Regions from separate parts of the Homo sapiens genome. Here all the other regions are linked to region 1. Evidence: promoter capture Hi-C in human tissues and cell types (Jung and others, 2019). All regions are on one chromosome and are shown on one strand. The core of a region is centred on a gene start or on the middle of the fragment in contact, and the rest is flanking DNA. Distances in the headings are between cores, read along the strand shown.

Region 1 (5,059 bases), core at 1,748-4,247:
CACCATGTTGGCCAGGCTGGTCTTGAATGCCTGCCCTCAAGTGATCTGCCTGCCTTGGCCTCCCAAAGTGTTGGGATTACAGGCATGAGCCACTGCGCCTGGCCTTCTCTTTTTTTTTGAGATGGAGTTTCACTCTTGTTGCCCAGGCTGGAGTGCAGTGGCGCGATCTTGGCTCTCCGCAACCTCCGCCTCCTGGGTTCAAGTGATTCTCCTGCCTCAGCTTCCCGAGTAGCTGGGATTACAGGCATGTGCCACCACACCTGGCTAATTTTGTATTTTTTTTTTTTTTTTTAGTAGACATGGGGTTTCTCCATGTTGGTCAAGCTGGTCTCAAACTCCTGATCTCAGGTGATCCGCCCACCTGGGCCTCCCAAAGTGCTGGGATTACACACGTAAGCCACTGCACCTGGCCCTCTTTCTTAAAACACGTGTAGTTGCAAAGTTCTAATGTAATTGCACAAAATAAATACTTTGGAACCCAAGGCCCAATCTGAAGCATTATAAGCCTCAAACATTTACTGTCACAAACTGTTTATCTACATATTTGCACAATATCATTGATCTTTGGTAATTACTCTTTGCAGCAACTAGAATCATTTTGTAATTTTCTTGTAGATTGCTATACTTGGTCAAATATTTACTGAGTGCCTACTATATGTCAGGCCCTATGATAAACACTTAGTTACTAAAAAGGACCATTAACTGCATTTTGGCTCACTTTAAACTTCAGTAATAAAATAAAACTTACTTAGTTTCTCAAGCAATACAAACCTTGTTAATTCATTTTCTCTACTTCAAGTTGCAGAGACTTCAAGTACAAGAAACAACATATTTTCCAACGGAGCTAATAATGCAGTTCCGTGTGGCCGGGCACAGTGGCTCATGCCTGTAATCCCAGCATTTTGGGAGGCTGAGGCAGCGGATCGCCTAAGGTCAGGAGTTCAAGACCAGCCTGGCTAACATGGTGAAACCCCGTCTCTGCTAAAAATACAAAAATTAGCCAGGTGTAGTGGTGCACACCTGTAATCCCAGCTACTCTGGAGGCTGAAGCACGAGAATCGTTTGAACCCAGGAGGCAGAGGTTGCAGTGAGCTGAGATGGCACCATGGCACTCCAGCCTGGGTGACAGAGAGAGACTCCATAACACACACACACACACACACACACACACACACACACACACACACACACACAGACATTCTGTTGCAGTGACATAAAACCTCAACAGTATGGCTTTCTTATAACTAGGAATAAGAAACAGGAAGATTTCAACAAAAAATAAACTTAAAAATACTGAAACGAATTTGACTGTCTGTGTTGTTTCAGAAGGCTGAATAAGCACCAAAAAGAAGTTATAGGAATGTAGACCGTAGATGTCAGCTCAAAACGAAACAAACCCCTGATCCGAACAACCTAACAGCACTGGTTTGAATACTGAAACAGCTGTCAGGACCACTTGCGTGGAATGTCCTAGAGGCAACTGGAGCACCGGAGGGAAGGTTAATTACTTGATACTCTAATATGCCTTTCAACACGGATTCCACAAACACGACAATGCTGATTTTTGTCCTTTTTTTTTTTTTTCCTGAGACAGGATCAGCCTCTCACCCAGGCTGGAGTGCCGTGGTGTGATCTCGCCCCACTGCACTCTCGACCTCCTGGGCAATCCTTCCGCTTCAGCCTCCCGAGAAGCTCGGACCACAGGCGCAAGACACCACACCGGGCTTTTTTTTTTTTTTTTTTTGGTAGAGACAGGGTCTCACGATGTTGCCCAGGCTGGTCTCGAACTCCTGAGCTAAAATGAGGCCTGCCTTGGCCTCCCAAAGTGCTGGGATTACAGGCATGAGCCACAGCGCCTGGCCGACAAAGCTCATCTTACTGCATTTGAGAAGCCAGGTAGTCAAGGTCAGGCTTTCCTGTCCCTGCTTTCTCCCTCTCCTATGTGAGCCAGCCCTTAAAGAGTGAAAACGGCAAGAGCCAAAGACGGGTTTTCCTCCTAGGGTCTCCTAGCGACCCGCTGCCCAGATACATTTGGATGATTGTCCTGCAGAAGGCCAAAGCCCTCCATTATGAAAACGAAGCGTTCGGCCGGGGGCGGTGGCTCACGCCTGTAATCCCAGAACTTTGGGAGACCGAGGCGGGCGGATCACCTGAGGTCAGGAGTTCGAGACCAGCCTGGCCAACATGGTGAAACTTCGTCTCTACTAAAAGTACAAAAATTAGCCGGGCGTGGTGGCGGGCGCCTGTAATCCCAGATACTCAGGAGGCTGAGGCAGGGGAATCGCTTGAACCCGGGAGACGGAGGTTGCAGTGAGCCGAAATAGGGCCATTGCACTCCATCCTGGGCGATAGAGTGAGACCCTGTCTCCAAAAAAAAAAAAAAAGAAAGAAAGAAAACGAAGCGTTCTATCCTGGAATGTTCTCCCATGGCAAGAAGGAACAGAGAAGCAGGAGACAGAGATACTTTGAAAGGAGGTGCGCTCTGAGGAGGGGAAAGCGGGAAGAGCGATTCCAAGTTTAGGAAATCCTGCACGGCGCTGGAGCGTGGAAGGGCAAGGAGGAGCCAGGGGAGGCGGTGTGCAGGGCTGAGAACGGAGGGAGCGAACTGGCGTCGTGGATCTGCGGGTCCCCGGGCGGGCTGTACTAGGGTAGTGGGGAGAGGGCCGGGGGCACCGCGAGGCCGGGGCGCCGGACACCACGCATGCGCGGGGCTGGGAGCTTAGCGGGGCGCGCGGCTGCAGCAGTCTGGGCAGACCGCCTCGGCCTCGCCCGGTGCCGGCTGCGGCCGCCCCCGCCCCAGCGCGGCGGCCGGGCTCACACTAGTCCCCTCCCAGCCACCCGGAACCCGGCAGCCCGGCCAGACCCGCCGAGGCCGCGACGCCGGTGTCGACAGCGGCTGCGACGGCCCTGGGAGCGCGTGAGGCTCCGGGGTCGCGGCGGCGATTGGCCGGCCGCGGCGCCCGCTCCCAGAATGCAGCGCATGGCGCGTCATTGAAGAGAGACCATGATGGCGGCGGCGCTGGGGCCCCCAGAAGTGATCGCTCAGCTGGAGAACGCGGCTAAAGTTCTGATGGTGAGGACGCCGCGCCCCTCAGACCCCGGGATTCGCGGGCCCCCGGTCGGCCCTGCCACTCCAGGCCTTGCTGCTCGCTGGGCTGGCGACTGGCAAGGGCCTGCAGGGAGCCTGGAAGTGGAGGAGGAGGTGGCGGTGGCGTGGCGCAGGATTCTTCAGCCTACTTTCCTCCTGCCGTCGTCCCCTCCTTCCAGGAGCTGTCCCCTTCCCCTGGCTGCCCAGCACCCCAGTCGGGCGTGGGAATATAGTGGTGTAGCAAAGAGAATTTCTTCACCTTACACCCTGCCCCACAGACTGGGTCGCAGAGCAAGGCGCCGGGAAGGAGTTGGGGTTATCCCCGCAGGGCTTCGGTAGGGGAAATTTGTAGGGCTGTGTGAGCGCTCTTGGGGAGTTGGTGTCGGGAGGGATTGGATGGCACAGCCTGGGTGCTGTTAGCAACCCTTGTTTCCTGTGCATTCGCATCCTCTAGCGCTTCCCTGACATGCAGCCACCTCTGGAGTAATTGCAGCCGGCAGCACGTGGAAGGGCCGGGCCGGCTGGAGGGAGGGAGGGGAATCGTTGAGACCAAGGTCATTGGGGCAAAACTTGGTCTAGTGCTAAGCTCCTTAAAGCTCCCGCGATTTGGAGAACTGAGTCTATGCTACTCTTTGACTTCATGCTTACACTACAATAAGCAGTTTGATGAGATTGTTTACTAAGGGAATTTGAGAAGGCCGAGTCAAAGGATAAAAGTATTACATGCAAGGAGGAGAAGTAAGGATAAACTACGTTCAGTTAGTAAACAGTGTTTCTATTTGCTGGCTCAGCTTTGTTTTTGCAAATTATGACTTCGGTGTTTGTAGATGTTTTGGGAAGTTAGAGGTTCATTTGATACCTGGATTGATTCAGACTTTCTAAGAATTGGATACAGCCAGCTTTGTTACCTTTTTGGACTTTTTTCCTTTTGGTTTGGTGTTAGGGTGTTTGAGCATCACATTTGAGAATATTCGAACTAATTCTAGCGTAGTTTGTAGTTCTAATATTTTACACCAGATATTTTTGTTTCTTTAGAAATCGAGAAGTCTAATAAAAGCAGGATTTACTTGCTTCATTATGAATATTAACTTAATGTACGTTTTGTCACAAAACAGACTAGTGAAGGTTTTCACACTTTTGCAAATTAAGCAGAAGTAACTAGCTAGTATTCCCCTTAATAAAAGATTCTTAAAAATCCCTGACATAGAGCGTTTTGTAAAATTCCTGAAATTTTCCTAGGAGCTAGGGGCTCCGTTTTCATTGGATTCTGGAAGGAGTATGCCACCCAAAACACGGCTGTAGTTCTTACACTGATCAGGTAAAATCAGTGTCCTTCGTCACTGGCTTAATATAAACTAGTATTTGTGTTTTCCAATATCTTCCCTCTTCCCTGGCAAAGCTGCTTTTATCCCCTATAAGGAGTAGGTGAGAAGAATAGTAGTAAGTACCGTTTATTGAGTGCTAGATATTGGGCTTGATGCTTTACATACTTTACATATTTTATTAATTCTTGCAACAGCTTTGCTTTACAAGGTTGAGAAACTGTAAGTGGCCCGGGTTACACGATTACTAAATGGCTGAATTAGGTCTTGAACTCAGTTCTGTCTGGCTCTAAAGCTGTGTGTCTTTCCACTCTACCCCATCTGTCATATGTTGTATAAATAATTTGTCTAAATGCTTTTTATCTTTTCAGAGGAGAGTAGTATTGAAAAAAGTGTCATGTTATTAAAAACAGGAAATTACAGCCGGGTGCGGTGGCTCATTCCTGTAATCCCAGCACTTTGGGAGGCCGAGGTGGGCGGATCACTAAAGATTAGGAGCCCAAGACCAGGCTGGCCAACACGGTGAAGCCCCATCTCTACTAAAAATATAAAAATTAGCCGGGCGTGATGGCTGGCACCTTTAATCTCAGCTACTCTGGAGGCGAAGACAGGAGAATCGCTTGAACCAGGAGGCAGAGGTTGGAGTGAG
Region 2 (4,867 bases), core at 2,043-4,542, 740 kb after region 1:
CTCCCGACCTCGGGTGATCCACCCGCCTCGGCCTCCTAAAGTGCTGGGATTACAGGCATGAGCTACCACACCCAGCTGGATTCATTTTTTTAAGTGCTATTAGAGCTATTTATAGCCCGCAGAGTAACTGAAATACTATACATTGTCAATCAGCATAGTAAGTAAGGAATAGTGACGGTCTATACAAGTAATTTTGTTTTTGTTTTTTTGTTTTTGTTTTGAGATGGAGTCTTGCTCTGTCACCCAGGCTGGAGTACAGTGGTGCAGTCTCAGCTCACTGCAACCTCCGCTTCCCCGGTTCAAGTGATTCTCCTGCCTCAGCCTCCTGAGTAGTTGGGATTACAGGCAGGTGCCGCCACACACGGCTAATTTTTGTATTTTTAGTAGCAACGGGGTTTCACCACGTTGGCCAGGCTGGTATCAAGCTCCCGACCTCATGTGATCCGCCCGCCTCGGCCTCCCAAAGTGCTGGGATTACAGGCGTGAGCCACCACCGTGCCTGGCTTATACAAGTAATTGTAAACGAAAAGGAAAAAATGGAGATACAGTTTTCTCGTGCATCTTAAACTTTGGTGCTTAAAAGCACCATTAAATTCTGCTTTCACATGAACACACACAAGATTACCACGTTTGCTCTGGGCTGCTGCGTATTGGAAGGACATACACATTCAACAAATATTTGTTGAACTTCCATTCTGTACACAAAGCACAAAGAAAGATTCGTTCACAGTCCGTGTGGGTACTGGAAAGCAGTTCCAGCCCTGCCTGCCAGGGGGCACCCCAGGCAAGCACATCTCAGTGGCTGCTAGAAAGTGAATTGAGGCTGAGTCTCTCCACACCCAAGTGTTAGGCGTTCTAGGCTCAGAAAGAGACAATGACAATGCGGGCAATTCTCTCTTCACTGTGTCCTCTTCTTTGCTAGAAATGTTATTAGAATATGGAAATGTGACATTCAGCACTAATCAGTTTGACATATGAATATATCTATACACATATTTCTCCCTGAAATTGGCCTAAATACTCTTTCTTGGAACCAAATGAGAAGCAAACAACCTTTACAACTAAACATTAAACCATAAGATGAACATCTTAGTTGTCTACCTAGAAATTGTACAGTATGACAAGTGTAAAGAAACTGCTAGCTTCTTAGTTGTGCTGGTCTTTACACAATACCACTTTAAAAATTGTTTTATGGTAGTAAAATATACATAACCTTTAATTTACCATTTAACCTTTCTTAATGTGTACAGTTCTGTGGCATTAAGTACATTCACATTGTTATGCAACCATTACCATCATCTGCTTCCAAAACTATTTCTATCTTCCCAAACTAAAACTCCGTACCTATGAAACTCTATCTTCCCGTTTCCCACTGCCCCAGCTGCTGGTAACCACACTTCTACTTTCCGTCTCTATGATTTTGACTGCTGTAGGTACCTCATGTAAATGGAATCATACAGTATTTGTGACTTTTGTGACTGGCTTATTTCATTTAGCATAATGTACTCAAGGTTCGTCCACGTTGTAGCATGTGATGGGGCTCTCCCTTTTTAAGGCTGAATAATATTCCACTGTAGGTATGCAATACATTTTGTTTATCCATTCATCCATTGATGGACACCTTTTGGCTATAGTAAATAATGCTTGTATGAACATATATGTAAAATATTTGTTCGAATTACATAATATAATTTAAAATCTATATTTTAATAAAAATTTTAAAATTATTACAATATTATATTTCCATTTTTATCCTCAGAATACCAATAATAGCATTTGGCAAACAGACTACAAATATTAACAATTCCTAGTGCTTTTGTGATCAACAAAAAAAAAAAAACTATTCCTGTGCTTCTCAGAGAAAATGTTTTAAATGAGAAAAATATTCAAGTATTTTAAGACCTTCAAAGGTAGCATTTTTCAATTAAAAATTAAAAACTAAGTCTCCGTAACTACTACCTACTCCATACATACACCGCAAAGTTCCCAAAGGGAGAAGATATTTTAGATGCGCCTTTAGGAGCTTAGTTTTTCCTCCTTGGGATAACTTTAAATTCAGATCTCAGCAGAACAAACGCATTTTTCAGGGCAAGCCAACTGCTAATCCGAGTAGATCTAAACGCTAACGAAGGCAGCCGACGGAAGCTGCTCCATGAAGACACGAAAACTATCAGACTTGCATTTTGCCACATTCCTGGAATAAACTTATTACTCATAAAGGTGATTTTGAAGCCATTTCAGCTTGTGGAATGATCACCGAAATGCAGTCCACCGATATTTGTTAATATCCCAGGCTGGTCAAACCCCACTCCAGACCTTGGGGGACGGGGAGGGGACCCGCGGCCTCTCTAGGCTGTGCCCAGACAGCAGACAAGGACGCGATGCCGCCCTCGGTCCGCGGCCTTCCGCGGTAGGCGTCCCTCTCAAGCGTGGTAAAACCACCCCGAAGGGAACAGAAAACGTTAAAATCTTCGTTGGGCGCCAGCAGGCAGGTTAGGCCTCGCCCTGGCATCTCGTCTCCAGGACCAGATGGAGCGAGTGACCCGCGGGGACACCTTCCCGGTCACCTCGAGCGCAATAAAACAAGTTCTTTTTTTAAAAATAAGCATCCGTGTGCCTGCCGGCTAAATTAAGTGTGTCTGAAGAGAAGCAGGATGGCGGCCGCTATTTATAACCTCCCGCCCCGCCCGGGCGCCACTCCTCGACAGCACCCACGCTGTGCCCGGCGGCGCTTCCGCGGGGACTTCCTGCTCGGTGGTCCCCGCCCCGCCCCGCGCCAGCCGTCCGGAACCCGCGTCCCCAGGCGGCTGCAGGCGGGCGAGACCTAGGTGCCCGACGCCCACGCGCCTCCGACCGTGGGAGCGCCCGGAGAGCAGCTACCTCGCCGGGCCTGCGAAGCCCAGGACAGGCGCGAGCGGGGCGCGGGCTGGCGCATCTGCGTGCGGTGGGCGCCCCGCAAGCGGGTCGGGCCCGCCCCAACAGCCCTCGGCTCTCCTCTCACGTCCCGCGCGGGCATGCCCCGGAGTGCGTAGGCGGCAGGGAAGAGCCCCCGCGTCCACATCCCCAGGGCCCGCGCAGGTGCGGGATGGGGATGCAGGCGCTAGGCATGGACGTGCGCGCGGGGTAGGGTGTGGAATGCGGACGCGGGCGAGTGCTGTGGCTGCGCGTACAGGGTAGGGATGCGGGGGCGGTAGGTGTGCGTGCTGGGAAGCGCGCGGGGCGGGGCTGTTCGGAGGCGGCGGGGGCGTGGCGCGGCGTCCTGAGCTGCAGCTTGGGGGCGTCGGGCGCAGCGCACACTGGGGCTGCAGGGATGGCGATCAGGGCGGGGAGGTCGGGCCCTGGCGCGGGGCGCACGCGTGAAGCAGCACCGCACGTGTGAAAGGAATTCTTTTCAGAGCGGCCGGGAGCCCTGCTCCGGAGGAACGCACCCGGGTCGCCGCCGCGGCAGAGCGGGGTAAGGCGGGCCGGGCGCCCCGGAGGCCAGGCACAGGGGCCGAGGGCAGCGCGGGGCGGGGACGGGCGGGTCGGCGGCGCAGCGGAGCTGCCGGGCGAGCCCAGCGGGCTGAGACTGCCGAGCTGGGAAGCCGAGCCCCGGCACGTGTGCGGCTCCCAGCCCCCTAGGATTCTTTCAGGATTCTTCAAAAAGTTGTGGGGAGCTCGGGAAATTTGTGAGAAACTTTTGGAATAATTGATCTTCCTCCTTTGCTCCTGGAGGTCTGGAGAGCAGCGCCTCGTTTGGCTTCCCTTGATGGACAGTCCAAGGCCGAGTTTAAGTTGTTTTCCTGGGGTTGTTTTCCCCCTCGGGTGGAGGAAGCCGGGCTGTCCCGGACCGTCAGGCTGTAGGGCTCCTAGCGATGCTGAAATGCTTGAAAACTCTAAGCAGATGTCACCGCGCCAGCTAACGGCGCGCACCCAGCCGTCCACGGGCATTCAGCATCGCCGTGCTCCTAAAAGTCCTGTTGGGATTGTTTAGAAACAAGGTTGGCTCGCCTACATTTTTTTCAGAAACTTTTTAAAACTTTTTATTTTTAAGAAACACTGTAGCTATTAATGCCACGACCAGATTTCTCGACCTGTATGTTTGTTATGATGTGTTCAACTATAAGGAATTTGCAGAGGAGTGGAAAAGCACTGTCCGAGCCCCTTCCCGTAGGAGACTTGAGAAAACAAACGGCAGTGACGCGGCTGCATTTGCTTTGTTGCCGACTCCACACTAGTGAGCAAAATTCATCCTACCATGTAGAGTTCTCGGTTCGTGAATATGTGACTGCAACTTTAGAACTCCAGTTTTTATTTTATCAAGATGTCTCCAAAACATGCCATTTAAAAATGATTCTATACAAACAGCTGACAAGCGAATTATGGGTCTCATCACCCAGGAATTAAAAACCATGGTGATTTATGATGTGCGCATCACTTCACTGGCGGTCCATCCATGTGCAAGACAAACATTAAAAGATTAAAGAGGAAAAAAGAGGGATTTATTTTCCGAATATCAGTGTGTTCAAAGTAAACATCAGCTAGTTTGGCACAGATTCCACCTGCTCAGCAGTTTGGTTCATATCGAGATAAGCATCTCATAAGGGCAATGCATGTGTTGCTGTAGTGGAAAGTAATTCACGAAACGGTACTACTCTAACAAATCAGACAGTACTGTTTCTTAACCAGGAACCGTTAACTGGCTGAAAGCTGTCTTAAAAGAATGGCGGGTAACAAAATTTTTTGCCAATAAGGAAAATATTTTTGACCCAGTTTTCTTGAATGTTACTCACATTTTAACTTATTATATTCATTTCTCTTAGCTAAAATAACGTGTACACACTACATTTGAAACGAAAAATTACGTTTATCGCAGCCTTTTTTTTTT
Region 3 (5,149 bases), core at 2,568-5,067, 560 kb before region 1:
TAGCATCATCTCTTGCTCTACGACTGCAACGGCCTCCCAACTGGTTTCCTTGCCTCTAGACTTTCCTCCCTCCAATCTGTTCTTCTTACCACAGCCAGAGTGATTGTTATAAAATGTAATTCTGCTCACGTCACTACACTGCCTAAAGTCTTTAAATGATTCCCTGTTGTCAAAACCAGTAGCAAAGATGGAGTGAAATCACAAGCCCAACATGGAAATGGAAGGAAGGGGTTTAAGATACTGGCTTCTATTGCTCACAAGCAAAGAACATTAATTCATGTCTGTAACCATTTACGACAGAAAGAGTCCAAAATAATAAAAATATTGCCTCCTCAAAAATGTGTCTGTCCTCATTGTACAAGGACATAGATCAGAAATATTCTCTAGATCCCACATAAATCACCTTAGAATATGTGGCAGTCATTTAGAAATCAGAAACTGGTCGGGCACGGTGGCTCACAAAAAATACAAAAAATTAGCTGGGCGTGGTTGTGTGTGCCTGTAATCCCAGCTACTGGGGAGGCTGAGGCAGGAGAATCGCTTGAACCAGGGAGTCGGAGGTTGCAGGGAGCTGAGATTGCACCACTGCACTCCAGCCTGGCAACACAGCAAGACTCTGTCTCAAAAAAAAAAAAAAGAAAAAGAAAAAAAAGAAATCACAAGCTAATGTAATCTGGTTGGCAACGCCAGAAGTTAGGAGGAGTAACTGGATAACAATAGAAAACTTTAAATATTTGTTCAACAATTTCTTACTAAATATTTCCTACTGCAAGTCACTGTGGATGTGCAAGAAATACTTTCTACCTTCTAGAACCTTACAAGGTAGTAGGCAAGATCACATATTTCAATGAGTATCAAAACTATTGGCTGAGCGAGGTGGCTTAGGCCTGTAATCCCAGCACTTTGGAAGGCCGAGGCAGGCAAATCACTTGACTCCAAAAGTTTGAGACCAGCCTGGCCAACATGGGGAAACCCCATCTCTAGCAAAAATACAAAATGCAGGCCTCACGTGGTGGTGCACGCCTGTAATCCCAGCTACTCGGGAGGCTGAGGCATGAGAATCACTTGAAGCTGGGAGGTGGAGGTTGCAGTGAGCCAAGATCACGTGACCGCACTCCAACCTGGGTGACAGAGCAAGACTCTACTGAAAAAAAAAAAAAAAAGAATGTGGCCTTATTTGGAAGTGGGCCTGTTGTAGATGTAATTAGTTAAGATGAGGCCATACTAGAGTAGGGTAGGCCCTTAACCCAATATAAGGGGAGAGACAGGAAAGGAGAATGCCACCTGAGGATAGCGGTAGATATTGGGGTGATGCCACTGCCACTGCAGGTCAAGGGATGCCATGGACTAATGGTCACCACCAAAGGCTAGGAAGAAGCAAAGAAGAATTCTCCCCTACAAGTTTCAGAGGGCACATGGCTGTGTTAGGTCATTCTTGCACTGATATAAAGGAATACCTGAGACTGGGTAATTTATAAAGAAAAGTGGATTAATTGGCCCACAGCTCTCCAGGCTGTACAGAAAGTATGGGGTCAGCATATGCTTCTGGTGAGGCCTCAAGAAGCTTCCAATCATCAGTTGGAGACAACATTGGAGACAACAGCAACAGGAAGGTCCCTCTCACCTTCCTCTCGCTCTTCTCCCCTGAAGCAGGCCATAGCACTAGCAAAAGCGTCTCAGGCCTTCCCCTGAAGGCAGACCTAAGACTGTTATTCAAGAGGTGCCCTCCCTCTACCCAGACAAAGGAACATCCTTATCTCTGAAGACACAGGACCACAGAGATAGACTTCTGCCTTCTCGGCAGAAGGCAAAGGGGAGCCAGCATGTCACATGGCAAGAGAGGGGGCAAGAGAGAGAGTGGGGGAAGGATCAGGCTCTTTTAAATAACCAGATCTCATGTGAACTACTAGAGAAAGAACCCCTCATCCAAGGGGATGGCACTAAACCATTCATGAGGGATCCACCCTAATGATCCAATACCTCCCACCAGGTCCCACCTCCAACACTGGGATCACATTTCAACATGGGATTTGGAGGGGACAAACATCCAAACCATATCCAATATCCTTGCCAACACTTTGATTTGGGACACCTACCCTCCTAAACTGTGAGACAACCAATTTCTATTATTCCCCAGTTTTGTGGTACTTTGTTATAGTCACCCTAGGAAACGAATGTGACAGTTTTATAGTTAGGTTATAAACAAAATGTCGTGAAAGATCATTTCTAGCAGCCCTGGAGCTTGTAAAGGACATGGCTTTGTGCTGAGCTCTAGCAGCATGGTTTTGGTACGTAGAGATGACATAGAGGAGAAACGGCTTTATGTTCTTCCATGTCCATCCGAATTCTATGTTGAGGTCTAACCCTCCTAAGCAGCCTCTCTGGAAAACTAGTTGAACTTGAACCTAAACCTACTGTCAACTAGGCCACTAACTAATATGACTTTTAAGGCACAAAATCAGGGAGAACAGAATCTTTTATACATGCTTTATTACTCAAGCAGCAGTGTGCAGTGATTAAATACTTACTCGCTTTTACTACATTTCTCTGACACAGCAAAGGGTGACGTCTTCTTCATGGAGACTTTAGTGAGCAGTAGCTAATTTAAAGCTCAGTGTAGGCCGGTCGTGGTGGCTCACACCTGTAATCTCAGCACTTCTTTGGGAGGTGGAGGCGGAGAGGGGTTGGGATTCCTTGAGCCTTGGAGTTCAGGGCCAGCATGGCAACAGGGCGAAACCTAGTTTTTACAGAAAATACAAACATCAGCTGGGCATGGTGGCGGGCCTGTAGTCCCTGCTACTCTGCAGGCTGAAGCAGGAGGAGTGCTTTAGCAGGGAGGTCGAGGCTTAAATGAGCCCAGGTCGTGCCACTGCACTCCAGCTTGGGCGACAGAGCGAGAAGACCCTGTTTCAAAAAACAAACACAAAAATTCATTCTAACCAAAACTGAATGCTAGTAGCAGGAACTGGTATGAAGATTGCGGTCTGGAATCCCTTCTAATGCGTCTGACCTTGCATTGTGAAGTCTTCACAGTGATGCTTCTGGGTTCTATATGATTATCGTCATTGCTTAGCAACCTCTAGTTGTAAATAAATTCTTTAAATTTCCTTAGTCGTTTGCGGGGCAAGGAGAGGGTCATTTACATGCCCTTTCCTTCTCGCTACTCAATCTTAAATTTGGGTTACGAATCAAACTGATGGACCCTACATGGCTTCTACCCGAAATTACAGGTATCTACCGTTCCATCTTCAAGAAAGGGAGGGGTTCCGCCAAGATGGACGAACATAAAAATCACAGGAGGAGCCTTCTAACAATGTGCATTCTTCGCACACTGAGTGGGGAATGGCCTTGTCATGTTTGAAACAGTGCCCCAACTACTCAATGTCCCAGGAACCCCAGTGGAGCGAGTTCTGTACACAGAGAGGGCCAAGATCCACAAATCAGCTAAGGAATCATTTCCATAGTCTCCCTCCCCTATTGAGTCTCGATCCACAAAAGCTATCCCCTGTCCCTCTCATCCATCAAGGGCGTGTTTTTCGCCTCTCCTTCCCCGGCCTCCCGCGTCCGCCCAGCCTGTCCGCATCCAGCCCCGCCACGCCCCATGGGCGGTCCCGAGCTGCGGCCCCGCCCCCTCACCGCCTCCCCGGCCGCGGAAACCCCGCCCCAACGACGCGGAGACCGGGGGCGGCCCGCGGCCCGCGGCGGGCGGGCTGGCGGGGACGGACGCGGGGGGAGGGGGGCGACGGGATGTGGGGTGGGGGCGGGGCCTGGCTGGGCGCCGGGACGGGAGGAGTCCCGGCGGCGCCTCGGACTTTTGCTCCCACAAGTCCTGCCTCGGAGGCGGGGGAGCTGGACCAGCAGCCGCCTGGAGCGTCCGAGTCACCGTCGCCGGGGCTCCCGCGCTCCCCAGAACGGTGGGACGCGGGGCTCGGCAGCCGCCAGCGGAACATGGCGCCCTGGACGCTGTGGCGCTGCTGCCAGCGCGTCGTGGGCTGGGTGCCGGTGCTCTTCATCACCTTCGTGGTCGTCTGGTCCTACTACGCGTACGTGGTGGAGCTCTGCGTGTGTGAGTACCGTCCCCGGGGACTGCGGCGGGGCGCGGGCCGCGGCTAGGGCGCGAGATAGGCCTCTGCGCCCCACACCCGCCGCCTTTCTGGAGCCAGCGCCGGACGCCGGGCGTCCGGCCCCGAACGCGCTCGGAAGCGCCGAGGTTGCTGCACCCGCCGCTTTGTTCAATCCTGCGGCGCGGCCTTGGGGCGACCTGGGGCTCCTGAAGCCTTGCGGCGGCTTCCCGGGTGCAGGTCTGGCCCAGGGAGGCCCCAAGAGCTTCCTGGTTCCCGCCGACACCGGGGGTCTGCATCCTTCTGGGAAGGAACGTGCAGAACGGGAGTAGTCGAGCTTCTTAGAAGGTTTAGGTTGTGTTTGTGGCTTTTTTGGCTTTTGTTCATTTTTTTTAAAAAACCAAATCTGTTCCTTCTGGATTGTTTTTGTTCAAACTGCGCGAGAAGAAACGCCTGTTACCTGTAGAGCCGGCTGTGGCGGGTTGGGGGAAGGGAGGTGTGTCTTTTGGTGGCCTCGGGCTGGAGGCGGGTCAGACCTGGAGGACGAGTAAGCTCCCACTTTTGATTTTTGGTGGTACTCGACTCATTGTAAAATTCGTTTATTTCTACTCTGAATCCAGCCGGCTTTTGCAGAAGGTTAAGACAGAAAGAATGGGTGGGAGGAGACATAACCTGATTATTTTTTTCTTGGCTGATTATTAAGGAGGCTTATATTTCTTATACTCATATTTTGGCGTGTTAATTTTCGTTACTTCCATTTTCCTGATAAGTTCTTAGCACAAAATTCTCATCTGATTCCCTGGAAAAAAGGAGTAGCATTGCAGTATACTTCAAGGATTTAACCTACTGGCTTGAATTGGTTGCCTTTAAGATTGAAGGAAATTGGTTGTCATTAATCAAAAACACTGTTTAGGGGTGACTGCTACATTTGTGATATTGGGCAATTTCTCCAACATTGTTTTGTCTTAAGTAAATTGTTCTTAGGCTTTGAGTATGTGGGTATTTTACACTTAAACTGGCCTCAACTAGGGTGTTCTGTATACATCTGCTGCCTATATCAATTTTTTATGAAAACCTAGGACCAAATG
Region 4 (4,475 bases), core at 244-2,743, 580 kb before region 1:
TGCTTTTTCTCTCCCTGGGGCATGTTTTACTTTTATTGTGGGCCAAGAGGTAAGACAGTAGGGATTTAAGTAAGCAGAGAGGAGTCGTCTAGACCCTCAGCTGCCAGCCTTTTGAGTCCTGGGTTTTCATTTTCTGATCCCATAAGTGATATTTCTGCCACCCCTCACCTCTGCCCCAGTGATGTATAAGCAAGGGAAGGAGAAGAAAGGAGAAAAAGCAGCGCCCACGTTGCCAGGTTCATGCCTTAAACAGTTCTCTAGATTCCAATGTCTCTGCCAACATCATGCCAAAGAAGATCCAACATCAAGTGCACATGTTGAACAGCTGAACCTAACTCAAGCCAGTTAGGGAGAGAAGTTTCCATGCTCAGAGGAGGCATCCCCTGTGATTTGTTTAACTTCACATTTTCTCACCTCTGCCTTGGAAGTGACAGGTGTTTAATTCTAAATTGTAACAGTTAATGGACTTTTAAAGACATTTTCCTGATATTTTTCTGAGGGAGTACAAGACAGACTTCAAAGTCAGAGTTCCATGCAGATAAGCACACAGATCCGTAGACAGAGGCGGTAGAGGAAAAGTGAGTCACTAAGTTTTCTTTAATGGAAACTGCATATCTTCAAAAGCTGGAGTGCAAACTGACACTAATACCACATCGATGCCATAGAATGAATGAGACAAAATGATGAAATGCAGGGAGAAAACTCGTATTGAGAAAAATTAAAAGAATCCTGCAAATCACTTGTGGCGTTACAGTTGATTTAAAGTGAAAGCATTCAATACAAATGTTCCACAAGGTGGCAGCCTTGCTTTTCCAAAAAATTTTTATCTGCCTTGCATACACCAAGCATTACTTTCCTTTCCTTTCCCTCCCTCCCTCCCTCTGTTCCTTCCTTCCTTTTTCTTTCTTTCTTTCTTTCCTTCTTTTTCTTTCTTTCTTTCCTTCTTTCTTTCTTACTCTCACTCTCTCTTCATTCCTTTCTTTGTCGTCCCTTCCTTTCTCTCTTTTTTTTTTTTTTTGAGACAAAGTCTCACTCTGTCACCCAGGCTGGAGTGCAGTGGCACCATCTAGGTTCGCTGCAACCTCTGCCTCCCAGTTAAAGCGATTCTCCTGACTTAGCCTCCTGAGTAGATGGGATTACAGGCACCTGCCACCACGCCCAGCTAATTTTTGTATTTTTATTAGAGATGGGGTTTCACCATGTTGGCCAGGCTGGTCTTGAACTCCTGACCTCAAGTGATCCTCCCACCTTGGCCTGCCAAAGTGCTAGGATTACAGGCGTGAGCCACCTCACCCGGCCTTTTTTTTTTTTTTTTTTTTTTTTTTGGCAGGGCCTTGCTCCACCCAGGCTGGAGTGAAGTTGAGGGTTCCTCAAACTCCTGGGCCCAAGCGATCCTTCCACCTCATCCTCCCAAGTAGCTGGGATTAGGGGCATGCACCACTACACCCAGCTAATTTTTAAAACTATTCTGTAGAGACGGGGTTCTTGCTATTTTGCCCAGGCTGGTCTCGAACTCCTGGCTTGAATCTATCCTCCCGCTTCGGCCTCCCAAAGTGCTAGGATTACAGGGTGAGACACTGCACCCGGCCCACACATGATCTTTTTTTTTTTTTTTTTTTGAGACAGAGTCTCTCGCTCTGTCACCCAGGCTGGAGTGCAATGGCGCGATCTCAGCTCACTGCAACCTCCACCTCCTGGGTTCAAGAGATTCTCCTGCCTCAGCCTCCCGAGTAGCTGGGATTACAGGCACTAGCCACCACACCCAGCTAATTTTTTGTATTTTTAGTAGAGATGGGGTTTCACCATGTTGGCCAGGATGGTCTTGATCTCCTGACCTCGTGATCCGCCTGCCTTGGCCTCCCAAAGTGCTGGGATTACAGGCGTGAGCCACCATGCCCAGCCCACACATGATCTTTAACAGAAAAACTAACCATATAATAAAGAAGATATACAGAAAATTACAGAATATCTCAGAGATGACTTGCTTAATGAAGGAGAAACATTGTGGGAGGCTTTGAACTGACATGCCTCAGCTAAATATTGACCAACTCAGAGAAATTAGTGCTTTACCACATTTACCATTAGCACTTGCTGTTTGTGTTTGCTTACATTCGGCAAGGAAGGAAATTAATGTTTGGAATCTCTATGCAACATCTTGTTACTAGCCAGGTTATCTCTTCAGTATCATCAATGTCAAATCTTTATTGAAGCCTGCTCTATTCAAAGCATTCTGCTAGGTGCTAGTCTTCTTTCTAGGAGAGTTCTCTTGCCAAGAGGATGAAATGGGAGAAAACAGTGTGCTTATAGTACTTACCACACCTAGACTTATATAATATTTAAACATTCAATAGTGGGTGAAAATATATTAATAACTCCTTTATGCTTTGCAGAATGTCATGCGAGCTCTTCCCCAAAATTTTATGATCCAAAAAGAATTAAAGGAATGTTCACAGTAGCATCATTTCAAATAAAAATTCAGAAACAACATAAATATCTAGCACCATGAAAATGGATAAATTGTGCTCTAATTGTACAATGAAATTCTAGGCAGCTGTTAAAATGGCGAATGAGTAAATTAAGTTACTAAGCTATTGTCTCTCCGTTCCATCCCCTCGCTTGCACACATACTTGGCTTTGTCATGATGGGGCCGGTCCCAGACCCTGCAAAACCCGTTTCCCTTTGCTTGCTGGCGACGTGCTAGGCTCTGCCGATAGGGGGCAGTAGAGGGAGCCTGCAAGCCGGGAGGAGGGAAAGGGGCTCGTTCCTCTCTGTGTCCGGTCAGTGTTATTTGTGTCTGTACTCAGCCTTCATCCTGGCAGCGGTTAGTACCAGTCTCCTGGTTTTTTTTGTGTGTGTGTGTGGTTTTTTTTATGTTTTGTTTTGTTTTTGTTTTGCACTCCCGGAACCAGCCACATTGTGTCCTCTCCCCGCTCCCGCCACCCGCCCAGGCACTGGCACCAGGCGCCTCTTGGGAACGGCAGGCCTTTCTTTCCAGTTTCTGGATTTTAATCCCCCAGCCTCTTCTCTTAGTACCCTGGACCAGGGAGTGGTAGCTGCTTCCAGCATTTACTTTCTTCTTTGCTTCTTCACTCTTCTAGCACCTGTTTAACCAGCTCCTTCTATTAATTTTTTTTCTGTTAAGCTCCCCTTCCCCAGTCCTAAAAAAAAATAATAATAATAATCTATTGAAATACTTAATGTGGACCCTGACTCATACAATGACCATGTGTCAGGAACTGCAGATTTATAACACAGGTAGATAAGGAGGTAGAGGCATAGCAGACATGCATATATACATATTAGAATATTTCCATATACATATGTGTTATATATAAAATGCAGATATATACACATGTAAGTACATATGTATTTCTTACATGAGCTATATTTAGACCTATGTGTACATATATATAAAATTTCCTGCCAGGTGTGGTGGCTCACGCCTGTAACCCCAGCACTTTGGGAGGCCGAGGCAGATGGATCACCTGAGGTCAGGAGTTCGAGACCAGCCTGACTGATATGTTGAAACCCCGTCTCTACTAAAAAAAAACACACAAAAATTAGATGGGCGGCATGGTGGCGGGCACCTGCAGTCCCAGCTACTTGGGAGGTGAGACAGGAGAATTGATTGCATCCAGGAGGCAGAGGTGAGCCAAGTTTGTGCCACTGCACTCCAGCCTGGGCGATGGAGCGAGACTCTGTAGCAAAACAAACAAACAAACAAACAAACAAAACAAAGAATTTCCCCTAATCCTTACAATAAATGCTATGAGAAAGATACTATTATTCCTATTTTACAGGAGGAGAAACTGAATCTCAGGGAGATTAGTTAATTTCTACAATGCATAGCTAATAAGTGGTAATGCTGGGATTTGAATCCAAATATCCCCAACTCCACAATCTGTATCTTTCCCATATGCTTTAAAGTTGTTTAGACCTCAATTCAATCTATCCTTAACTGTGTTCTGCAATATAACTCAGTCCTTAGGCTAATCCACAACTGTCTTCTTACCTAATAGTGTAAGTAAATATAGCACTATTCTAATAAGTACTAGAGAATATAATCACCATAATACAAGACTGTTTCTGTGACTGAAGTTATGGGGAGGTTGAGAAAACTGTAGGAAAAGCATGGACATTTCTAACTCCAAGTTACTTGTCATTCATTCATTCAGTTAATATAATATAGTGCCTATTATGTGCCTGAAGATGTGCTGGACTCACGGTGATAAACAAAATAGAAATAGTCCTTCCTTTAAAAACTTTCCAATCTAAGGAAAGTGACAGTCTTTAATTAAATAATCATGCATAGGAGAAATACCTAACTATATCACACAGAGACTTAGCATAGACTGGGTACTTGACTACAAAGGCTGTTCTAAATGCAGCCCCCTGCCCCACACACGCACACTCAAGAGCTTGGCATCTGCCCCTCTCAATGTCTAGGACGGCATGCCTAGTCTGATTTTGTTTA

What was found. Contacts are between HindIII fragments. The study calls those that stand out against the background at their distance.
Region 2: a contact is called between the fragment with the promoter of GJA3 here and the fragment with the promoter of XPO4 in region 1, in 1 of the 25 tissues and cell types used here (lymphoblastoid cells).
Region 3: a contact is called between the fragment with the promoter of ZDHHC20 here and the fragment with the promoter of XPO4 in region 1, in 1 of the 25 tissues and cell types used here (small bowel).
Region 4: a fragment that was not itself captured here is called in contact with the fragment with the promoter of XPO4 in region 1 in 1 of the 25 tissues and cell types used here (lymphoblastoid cells).

The regions. Positions count from the first base shown.
Region 1 is chr13:20,900,684-20,905,742 of GRCh38, reverse strand. XPO4 (exportin 4) reads left to right here and starts at 2,997. Exons shown (of 23, transcript NM_022459.5): 1 at 2,997-3,073. The coding sequence starts at 3,005. RefSeq lists a silencer at 2,595-2,974 and an enhancer at 3,185-3,234. The HindIII fragment of the contact is 40,685 bases long and covers 1-5,059 here.
Region 2 is chr13:20,159,477-20,164,343 of GRCh38, reverse strand. GJA3 (gap junction protein alpha 3) reads left to right here and starts at 3,292. Exons shown (of 2, transcript NM_021954.4): 1 at 3,292-3,454. RefSeq lists silencers at 2,642-3,001, 3,232-3,311, 3,472-3,561. The HindIII fragment of the contact is 27,118 bases long and covers 1-4,867 here.
Region 3 is chr13:21,457,971-21,463,119 of GRCh38, reverse strand. It overlaps ZDHHC20 (zDHHC palmitoyltransferase 20), which reads left to right and starts at 3,817. Exons shown (of 13, transcript NM_001330059.2): 1 at 3,817-4,066. The coding sequence starts at 3,949. It overlaps LOC124903131 (a long non-coding RNA gene), which reads right to left and starts at 3,573. Exons shown (of 2, transcript XR_007063713.1): 1 at 2,941-3,573; 2 at 2,474-2,737. RefSeq lists a cis regulatory region at 3,576, an enhancer at 3,492-3,661 and a silencer at 3,525-3,904. The HindIII fragment of the contact is 17,074 bases long and covers 1-5,149 here.
Region 4 is chr13:21,475,439-21,479,913 of GRCh38, reverse strand. No RefSeq gene overlaps it. Among named protein-coding and RNA genes, the nearest start is that of ZDHHC20, 18 kb to the right of the region's middle. RefSeq lists a silencer at 2,557-2,606. The HindIII fragment of the contact is 9,938 bases long and covers 1-4,475 here.